2 separate regions of the Homo sapiens genome follow, and region 1 is linked to region 2. Evidence: promoter capture Hi-C in human tissues and cell types (Jung and others, 2019). All regions are on one chromosome and are shown on one strand. Each heading gives the region's core, a stretch centred on a gene start or on the middle of the fragment in contact. The rest is flanking DNA. Distances are from core to core; before and after follow the strand shown.

Evidence for each region. Contacts are between HindIII fragments. The study calls those that stand out against the background at their distance.
Region 1: a fragment that was not itself captured here is called in contact with the fragment with the promoter of NMNAT2 in region 2 in 1 of the 25 tissues and cell types used here (spleen).

Annotation. Positions count from the first base shown.
Region 1 is chr1:183,721,354-183,726,184 of GRCh38, forward strand. It overlaps a transcript of RGL1 not described here. Among named protein-coding and RNA genes, the nearest start is that of APOBEC4, 70 kb to the left of the region's middle. RefSeq lists an enhancer at 2,464-2,964. The HindIII fragment of the contact is 4,359 bases long and covers 1-4,356 here.
Region 2 is chr1:183,416,047-183,420,350 of GRCh38, forward strand. It overlaps NMNAT2 (nicotinamide nucleotide adenylyltransferase 2), which reads right to left and starts at 2,334. Exons shown (of 11, transcript NM_015039.4): 1 at 2,137-2,334. The coding sequence starts at 2,221. The HindIII fragment of the contact is 5,834 bases long and covers 93-4,304 here.

The DNA of each region.
Region 1 (4,831 bases), core at 927-3,426, 310 kb after region 2:
CACTGCCATTGTTCCACTCCCACTGCCTGATGCTCATTTTACCCCTGCCTATTATAATAGCTTCCAAATTTGTCTCCCTGAAACTGTGATTTCTTAACTTCAAGCACACGTCCTTATTCACACTGGGTGCAATCTTTCAAAGGCTCAATAGTAAGTATGAGTTTTAACCCCACAGTATGTTAGAAAACGCCTTTCCCCTTCTGTCCTCTGCATACCTCACCAATCTTGTCTTCTTTGCTCAACCAATCTGTAATCAGATCTTTGGATAACCTGCTATTATACAAATGCGCACTCTAATTTAGGCACCCTTGTGCCTGTTGTTTCCTCTCTTCAGGATGAAGTTTCTTCACCTTTGGCCACCTTGGATACTGTTTTCTTAGCTTGGAATGTGTTTTCCTCACTTCATTCAAAGGACCAGCTTAAACATCACCTCCTCATAGAGACCTACACTGTGCCTGTGTCTTGGTTTAGCTCCCTTGCCTACTTTTACTTTAAGACACTTATCACAATGATGATGGTATTATTTATGTGATCATTTATGTAATGACTATCTCTGTCACTAGATTAAAGACCTCATAGGGTCAGGGTCTGTGACTATTTCATTCACCATTGTGATTCAGCATCTGTGGATTGCAGTTGCAAGCATGGATAGGGATGAAATTAGTCAAAGAGAAAATTTGGAGTGAGGAAAGAAAGTCAAGACAGAACACTAGGGAATACCAATATTTATGGAGCTGGACATGAAGGCAGATCCCACAGAGAAGTCTGTGGAGGAGCACTGGAGAAGGTAAGAGAACAGGGCAGAACAGTGTCATGGAAGTCAATGATGGAGAGGATTCCAAGAAGAAGGAGAGAACACTTAATAGTCTGGGACCAAAAAAAAAAAAAAAGATAAATGAACTTGAAGGCATAGCAATAGAACCTATCCAAAATGAAGCTTACACACAGAGATAAAAAAGACCAAGAAAAATAAGAGAGACCTGGAGGCAATAACATGTTGACTGACATATGTAAATGGGAGGCTTCAGAAGAGAAGAGAGTAAAAGAGAACAGAGATAATATTTAAAGAAATAATGACCAAACATCTTTCATATTTTATGAAAGGTATAAACTCACAGAGCTAAGAAACTCGGAACATGAAGCAAGATACCTACTAGGGAAACCACACCAAGAACTTCATTATCAAATTACAGCAAGTTACTAATTCTGACAAAAATCTTAAAATTAGAGAAAAAAGGGCACATTCCATACAGGGAACAACATAAAAATAATTACAACAGAGTTTTCGGAAACTATGCATGTCAGAAGACAATGGAGTAACATCTTTAAAATGCTGGAACAAATTTTGTCAATCTAAAATTCTAGACCCAGAGAAAACACCTTTCAAACATGAAACATGTCTTTCCTTAGACAAAGAAAAGTTGTGAGAGTTGGCCAGCACACCTGCAGTACAAGGCTTGTTAAAGGAAGTTCTTCAGGCAGAAGGAAAATGATACCTGATGATAATGTGGATCTACACAAAAGAATAAAGAGCTCTGAAAGTGATAAATATGTGGGTAAACTAATTTCATCATTTAAAAAATTTTAAAAAGGCAACAGTAGACTGCTTAAAACAACAAACAGCAGCAACAATATATTGGGGGAATTCATGACATGAGAAAGTAAAATACATGACAACAATAGCACAAAGGGCATTGGGGGGGAAATGGAAGCACACCAATGCAAAATTCTTGTATTTTATGTAAAATATTGTAATGTTTTTCCAAGGTAGACAAATAAGATAAAGATGCGTATTAAAAGCCCTAGATGAATCATTAAAAAATAAAGTATAGCCAATAAACCAATAGTATTGAGAAAATGGAATTTAAAAATACTCAGCTAGCAGGAGGCAGAGCAAGATGGCTGAATAGAAGCCTTCAACCAATTGTCCTCCTTGCAGGAACACCAAATTTAACAACTATCTACCCACATAAAAAAACACCTTCGTAAGGACTGAAAATCAGTTGAGTGACCACTGTACCTGGTTTTAACTTCATGTCACTGAAAGAGGCACTGAAGAGGATAGGAAAAACAGTCTTGATTTGTCAGTGCCATCCCTCTCTGGTTCCCTGGCAGTGGCCGCATAGCAAAGAGAATCTGTGCTCTTGCGGGAGGGAGAGTACAGTGACTGTGGGACCTTGCATTGGAACTCAGTGCTGCTCTGTCACAGTGGAAACAATACTGGGCAGAACTCAGCCAGTGCACGTGGAGGAAGCATTTAGACCAGCCCTAGCCAGCAGGGCTTTATCCATCCTAGCAGTGGGAACTTGAGTTCTGGCAAGCCTCCCCACCACAGGCTAAAGTGCTCTGGGGTTCTAAATAAACTTGAAAGGCAATCTAGGCCATAAGGACTGCAACTCCTAGGCAATCCTAGTGCTGGGCTCAGAGCCAGTGGATTTTGAGGGCATGCAACCTAGAGAGACACCAGCTGGAATGGCCAAGAGAGTGCTTATGCCACTCCTTCCCCAAACCCACGCAGTGCAGCTCACAGCTCCAAAAAAGACTCCTTCTTTCTGCTTGAAGAAAGGAGAGGGAAGAGTAAAGAGGACTTTGTCTTGCAACTTGGATACCAGCTCAGTCACAGTAGGATAGGGCATTAGGCAGAGTTATGAAGCCCCTATCCCAGGCCCTAGCTCCCAGATAACATTACTAGACACACCCTGGGCCAGAAGCAAACTCATTGCCTTGAAGGGAAGAGCCCAGTCCTGGCAAGATTCATCATTTGCTAGCAAAAGAGCTCTTGAACCCAAAATAATCAGCAGTGGTAGGTGGGTAGTACATGCCATGGGTCTTGGGTGAGACTCTGAGATGTGCTGGCTTCAGGTGTGACACAGCACATTCCCAGCTGTGGTGGCTATGAGGAGAGACTGTTTCTGCTTGAGAAAAGCAGAGGGAAGAGTAAAGGAGACTTCATCTTGCAGCTTAGGTACCAGCTCAGCCACAGCAGGGTAGAGCACTAAGTGGGCTCTTGGGGTCCCCAGTTCCAAGCCCTGGCTCTTGGACAGCATTTCTGGACGTCCCCTAGGCCAGAGGGGAGCCCACTTCCCTGACATATGAGTCCTAAGCCTGGCAACATTCACCACAAGCTGACTGGAGATCCCTTGGGCCTTAAGTGAACATCAGCAGTAGCCTGGCAGTACTCCTCACAGGCCTGTAGCAGTGGTCACCATGAAGAGAGACTCCTCTGCTTGTGGAAGGGGGAGGGAGGAGTATGAGGGACTTTATATTGTAGTTTGGGTGTCAGCACAGCAGCAGTAGAATAGAGCACCAGGGAGATTCCTAAGATTTCCAACTCTAGGCCCTGGCTCCTGGATGGTATCTCTGGACCTGCCTGGGGCCTGGGGGGAGCTTGCCATCCTTAAGCGAAGGACATGAGCATGGCTGTTTTCACCACCTGCTAATTATAGAACCTTAGGGCCTTGAGTGAACACAGGCAGTAGGCAGATAGTGGTTATAGCAGGCTTTGAGCGAGGCCCAGAGCTCTGCTGGCTTCAGGTCTAACCTAGCACAGTCCCAGTGGTAGTGGCCACAGGGGTGGTTGTGTCATCTCTCCCCCAGCTCTAGGCACCACAACACACACACACACACACGGAGGGAAGAGGAGGAGGAGGAGAGAGAAAGAAACGGACTCTGTTTCTTTGGGAGAAAGTAAGGGAAGAGAATAAGAGTCTCTACCTGGTAATCTGGAGAATTCTTCCAAATCTTATCCAAGATCATCAAGGCGGTACCTCTATAAGTCTGCAAGAGCCACAGCGTTACTGAGCTCGAGGTGTCCCCCTAATGCAGATACAGCTGCAGTGACCAAAAACTCAGATGACAATATCCAAGTTCCTTTGAATACCTGGTAAGCTTTCCCAGGAAGGATGGTGTATTAGTCTGTTCTCACACTGCTATAAAGAACTGCCCAAGACTCAGTAATTTATAAAGGAAAGAGGTTTAATTGACGGTTCTGCATGTCTTGGGAGGCCTCAGGAAACTTACAATCATGGCAGAAGGGGAGGCAAATGCATCCTTCACATGATGGCAGGAAGAATTGCTGAGCCAAGGCTGAACTTTTAAAAACCCAATTATGTGTAGTCTATAAAAATTTATTTAAATAAAAATACACAAAAGAGAAAAGCTGGGAAAAGATAAAGCTGTTTTAGTTATATTAATAGCCAAAAAAAATAAGAACTATTACCAGGGATAAAGAGGAATATTTCACAATGATGGAGTCAATGAATCAATAAGGCATAACATTCCTAAATGTGTATTCACCTTATAACTAAACCTCAAAATTCATTAAGCACTTGACAGATCTGGAAAGATAAAAAGATAAATCTACAATTATAATTGCAAATTTCACCACTCCTTTTAGTAATTAATAGAACAAGTCAACAAATAGAAATATGGAAGAATTAAACTAATCATCAACTTGAACTAATTGACATTTTTAAGAACATGTCACTTAACAAATGCAAAATATACATTCTTTTCTAGTGCAGTGGAGCATTTACCAAGATAGACCACATGCTTAGCCATTAAACAAGTCTCCAGAAATTTAAAAGGATTGATATGATATAGAGTATGTTTTCTGACTACAAGGGAATAAATTAGAAATAAGCAATAGAAAGATACATAGAAAATCTCAAAATACTTGGAAATTAAATAGCATACATTGAAGTAATTAATGGTTTAAAGATGAAATAAAAAGGAAAGTAGAAAATATTTGGGGGTAAATGAAAAGAAGACACACATATCAAAATTTGTGAAATGCAGCCTAAAGGGAAATTTATAGGCTTAAAAGCTTAAT
Region 2 (4,304 bases), core at 1,084-3,583:
CACCTTTCTATATCTAAACCCTTCCACTGCAACTCAGGTCTATTTCCACATAGTCTATCCTTGAAGCTCATGGAGAATTGGCAGGTCAGCATTCGCTTAACAAAAGCCTTTATTACTGTTAACAAAGAATCTTCAGCTACAAGACAGAATCTTTGGTTCTCAATCCAAATCTGTTTCTCTTGTAATCTAAAACAACTGGGATTTCCTAGCTTCAGGAAGAAAGGAGCAGTACCTGCTGGGTCATCAAAGATTCTTAGAGCCACAGAGTTTCATCCCCAGCCCAATGGCTCTTCCCTACTCCTCCTTTCTCTTGGTTCCAAAGGAAAACCCATCATTGCCTGGTCAAGGGAGAGGAGTAAAGCGCATCAACATAAAGTGCTAGAGGACATATGGACAGACAGGAAAAGAAGGAAAGGGATGAAGACACCAGCATCAAAGGAAAGTGAAAGTGGAGTGTTCTTAGGGCACTGATAGTCCTTAGAAGACTGATGACATGCTCTTGTCTACCCTGATGCTGGAACAGAAGTCCTTATTTAACAGGCAAGTTGGCATTGGTTCTTAATAAAAGACTTTTGAAAGCTGAAGGAATGGTGAAGAAGGGATGGCTATCTCTCAGCCTCCCTCCTTCTATCGTGTAGATATGCCTACCCGATTTGCCCTTTGCTCAAAGTAGTTCTATATTCTTTCCATGAGGTTTTTAACAAGCGAGCCCAGTTCAGCGCACCTTTTAAGTTTAAAGATGAATATTTTTAGCCTAAGCCACCTCGCCCTGTCTTTACCGCTGTGGTGTGGTTTTCACTAAACCTCCCTAGGAGGGCTCGCGCAGTCCTCAGGCTCCGGATAAACACGTGTGCCCGCATCCAGCTCCGGCGCGCCCTGCATTTCAGCACCGCCGCCTCTGGAGAGCGCCTTGCTGGCGGGCCAGGTCAGGGCCTCCCACACGCTCTCTCATCCATCCCAGCCCACTCGCTTTTCCCTACTCCTCGCTTCTCTCAGTTTCAAGAAAAAGCACCCCCAACTTCTAACTTCTCAATTCCTGCTTCTAAAGTGACCTCCGCGTCCCTCTTTCCGTGTCTAAACGCTCATGCCCCACGCCTTTGAGTCCTACGAGCAGCTGCGAAGCCGCGTGGCTTCCCACCGGTGGCGCGAGACCTCCAATAGGCATCTATCGATCACCTTTCCCCTACCGCTGCTGGACCCCGAACCAGCCAGCCGGATGCCCCCGCTCGCTCTCTCTGACTCCACGCCCCAAAGCTTCTAAGAAACAAACGCGCGATAAGTCCCCTCCCCCCAACACGCACACGCATATACTCACACACAGTCATTCGCACATTCGTACACACACTAGACGCCTCAAGCCTTCCGAGTGCCATCGCCACCCTGGGCAGAGCCTCAGCCAACTTGGGCCCCGATCCTTCGGCTCCGGCTCGCGCAGGGCCTCCCGCAGCCTCCGCCCGGCCCCCTCCCCGTCCTAGGCAGCGGGTCCCTGAGGCCGAACCTAGGCGGAAAAGGGCCCCCTCCCTATTCACTCAGCATCCACCTCGCGCGGGCAATACACGGCCCACAATTCCCAAACACTGGTCCCTGGGCCGCCCAGAATCACCAGCCAAATCCGAAATTAATCTTGAAGCCCCAGCCCCTGTCACCGGTGTGTCGGGCGCGAGTGTGTTTGCGAATCCCAGGCACATACATGATTTAACTCCTTCGAGCTTTCGGCCCATCCTAAACAAACAGCACGTTATCTCCAGCCCCTTCCTCCCCTACTCGGCGCCCCAACCTCTGCCCCCATCCCGGTCTTCGCCAGCCTGGTAGCCGAACCACCGCACCGCCACACTCCAGTTCTGGTATCTCGAACCCCTGCCCAGCCCCAAATGATACTCATCTCTAGTCCCCTCCCATCCCCCACCTTTGGCCCCCTGCGAGCCGGGTCTGGCCCCGGCAAGTGACGCCTCGGAAACGCAGTCTGCGTACCCTCCCCTGAGTCCAAAATGAAGGGGCCGACCTCCACCAGCTGGATGAGCCGGCCCACCCCTCCGAAGGGGCACACGCCTTCCCGTTCGATCGCCCTGGAAAACACAGGTGCCTGGGAAAGGAGAGGAGCGGAAGCGGCTTCCAGAGGTGGGCGGGAGGACTCACCAAACATCTGAATGTGCCCTTTGGTGATGGGATTGAAGCTGCCGCAGGCGAGCAAGATAACGTGGGTCTTGGTGGTCTCGGTCATGGTGCAGATGGGTCCTTCGCGGTGGTCTAGGGGTTGCCTCTCTTTTTGTGTCTCGTTGTGTCTGCAGAGGGAGAAAGGAAGGCGAGGCTCCGGCGGTGGATGCTGTGGACTCCAAGGAGCCGCTCCAGACGCAAACCGCGTCACTCTCCGCCTCCCCTTAACGCTTGCAGCTCCGGCTAGATCCGAGGCTGCTTTTGTATTGCTCTGCTCTCTTCTCTCCTCGGTCGCTCTCTTTTCGTTCTGGCTTCCTTCGCATCTCTCGCCTGGTGCCCCACCCCATCCTCTCTATCGCCCCCAGCCCACTTCACTCCATCACTGTCTTCCTTAGAGTTTATCCAGAAGGCAAGACGTGGTATCCAAGCTCAGAACCAAGAGCCCACAGCATGGTGTGAGCTCTTTCTGCCTCTTGCCTCATCTTGATTCAGTTTTCCTCCTCATTCTAACATTTTTCTGTCCCCCCTACTTTCTCTAACATCTCCAAGTTAAAAAATGTTTGATCTTAAGGTATTTTTTCTTTCTCTCTTCCTCAAAATTTTAAGTGAGAAATGACCATTGTTTATTTCAGTAGTATTCATTTCTGCTTTTCCTTTTTCCTTTATCTGATGATTCCAAACTATTGAGTTGAGTCCAAATCTTGATCTGCTGGCTGCAGAGAGATAGGGGTGATCTAAGCCCTTCCTCTGCAATACTGATCCTTTTCGTGGGCGAAGCAATGCTATCCGTTTGAGAGAACATGAAGGGGGCAGAGTTACTAAAACTGTATTAGAAAATTATGGGGATCCGCCGGGTGCGGTGGCTCATGCCTGTAATCTCAGCACTTTGGGAGGCCGAGGCGGGCGGATCACGAGGTCAGGAGTTCGAGACCAGCCTGGCCAGCACGGTGAAACCCTGTCTCTACTAAAAAGCAAATACAAAAACTAGCCGGGCATGGTGGCGAGTGCTTGTAATCCCAGCTACTCAGGAGGCTGAGGCAGGAGAATTGCTTGAACCTGGGAGGCAGAGGTTGCAGTGAGCGAAGATCGCACCACTGCACTCCAACCTGGGCGACAGCGAGAATCCATCTCGAAACAAAAAAAAAGAAAAAAGAAAATGATGGGGATCCTCCATAAGCTACCAAAGTTGAGACAAAGACTTACCATTTAACAAGTGTTTCTTGAGGGCTCATTATGTGTCAAGTATTGCTATAAACCCTGCTGGTGAAGCAAAGTCACTGTCTTCATTTTACTGGAGGAAGATAGACAATAAATATTAGATGGCAATTGTGCAATGCACAGTAAGTGAATGCAATTTACTCTCTGACAGAGCAGAGAGTGAGTGGAGAAGAGAGGACGAATCAAGTAGTCTGAGAAGGCCTCTCTGGGGAGGTGACATTTCAGTGAGACCTGAGCGACAGGAGTAGTTGCTAGCTCACGTATTCAGGGACAGGGAAGGGCTTACTGTATTCATAGAAATGAAAGGCCAGTGATGCTAGAAAGTATGGGCAAGGGGAAAAATGATAGAAGACTGAGCAGCAGGTGATCAGGGCCAGATCAAATGGGGCTTGTAGACTAGGGCAAGAGTTAGACACTTTTCTAAGTGGAATAATAACAAAAGGAAGCCACTGAAGCTTTTAAGCAGGGGAATAATATGTAATTTACATTTTTATAGGATCACTCTGGCTGCTGGGTGGAAAGGGAGGGCAAATGGGAAGACAAGGAAAGCATTTAGGAAAATCTGGTAGCCTAGGCAAGTGGAGTTGTCCTGAGACCAGGGTTTATAGAGACGGGAGCAACGAGAAGTAGATGGTCTCAGGATATGTTTTATAGATTTTGAAATTTGGCTTAAACAATGAGTAGACTGAAATTGAGAATGGTAGGGGAAGATAGATGTTCTATGCTTATACAACAGAAAGAACCAATAATTCTTTGCAGATGAATTGGATATAGAGGATAATTCTTTTTTTTTTTTTTTTTTTTTTTGAGACAGGATCTCACTCTGTCACCCAGGCTGGAATGCAGTGGCATGATCTCAGCTCACCACAGCCTCGATCTCCTGGACTCAAGCAATCCTCCCACTTCGGCCTTGCAAGTAGCTGGGACTACAG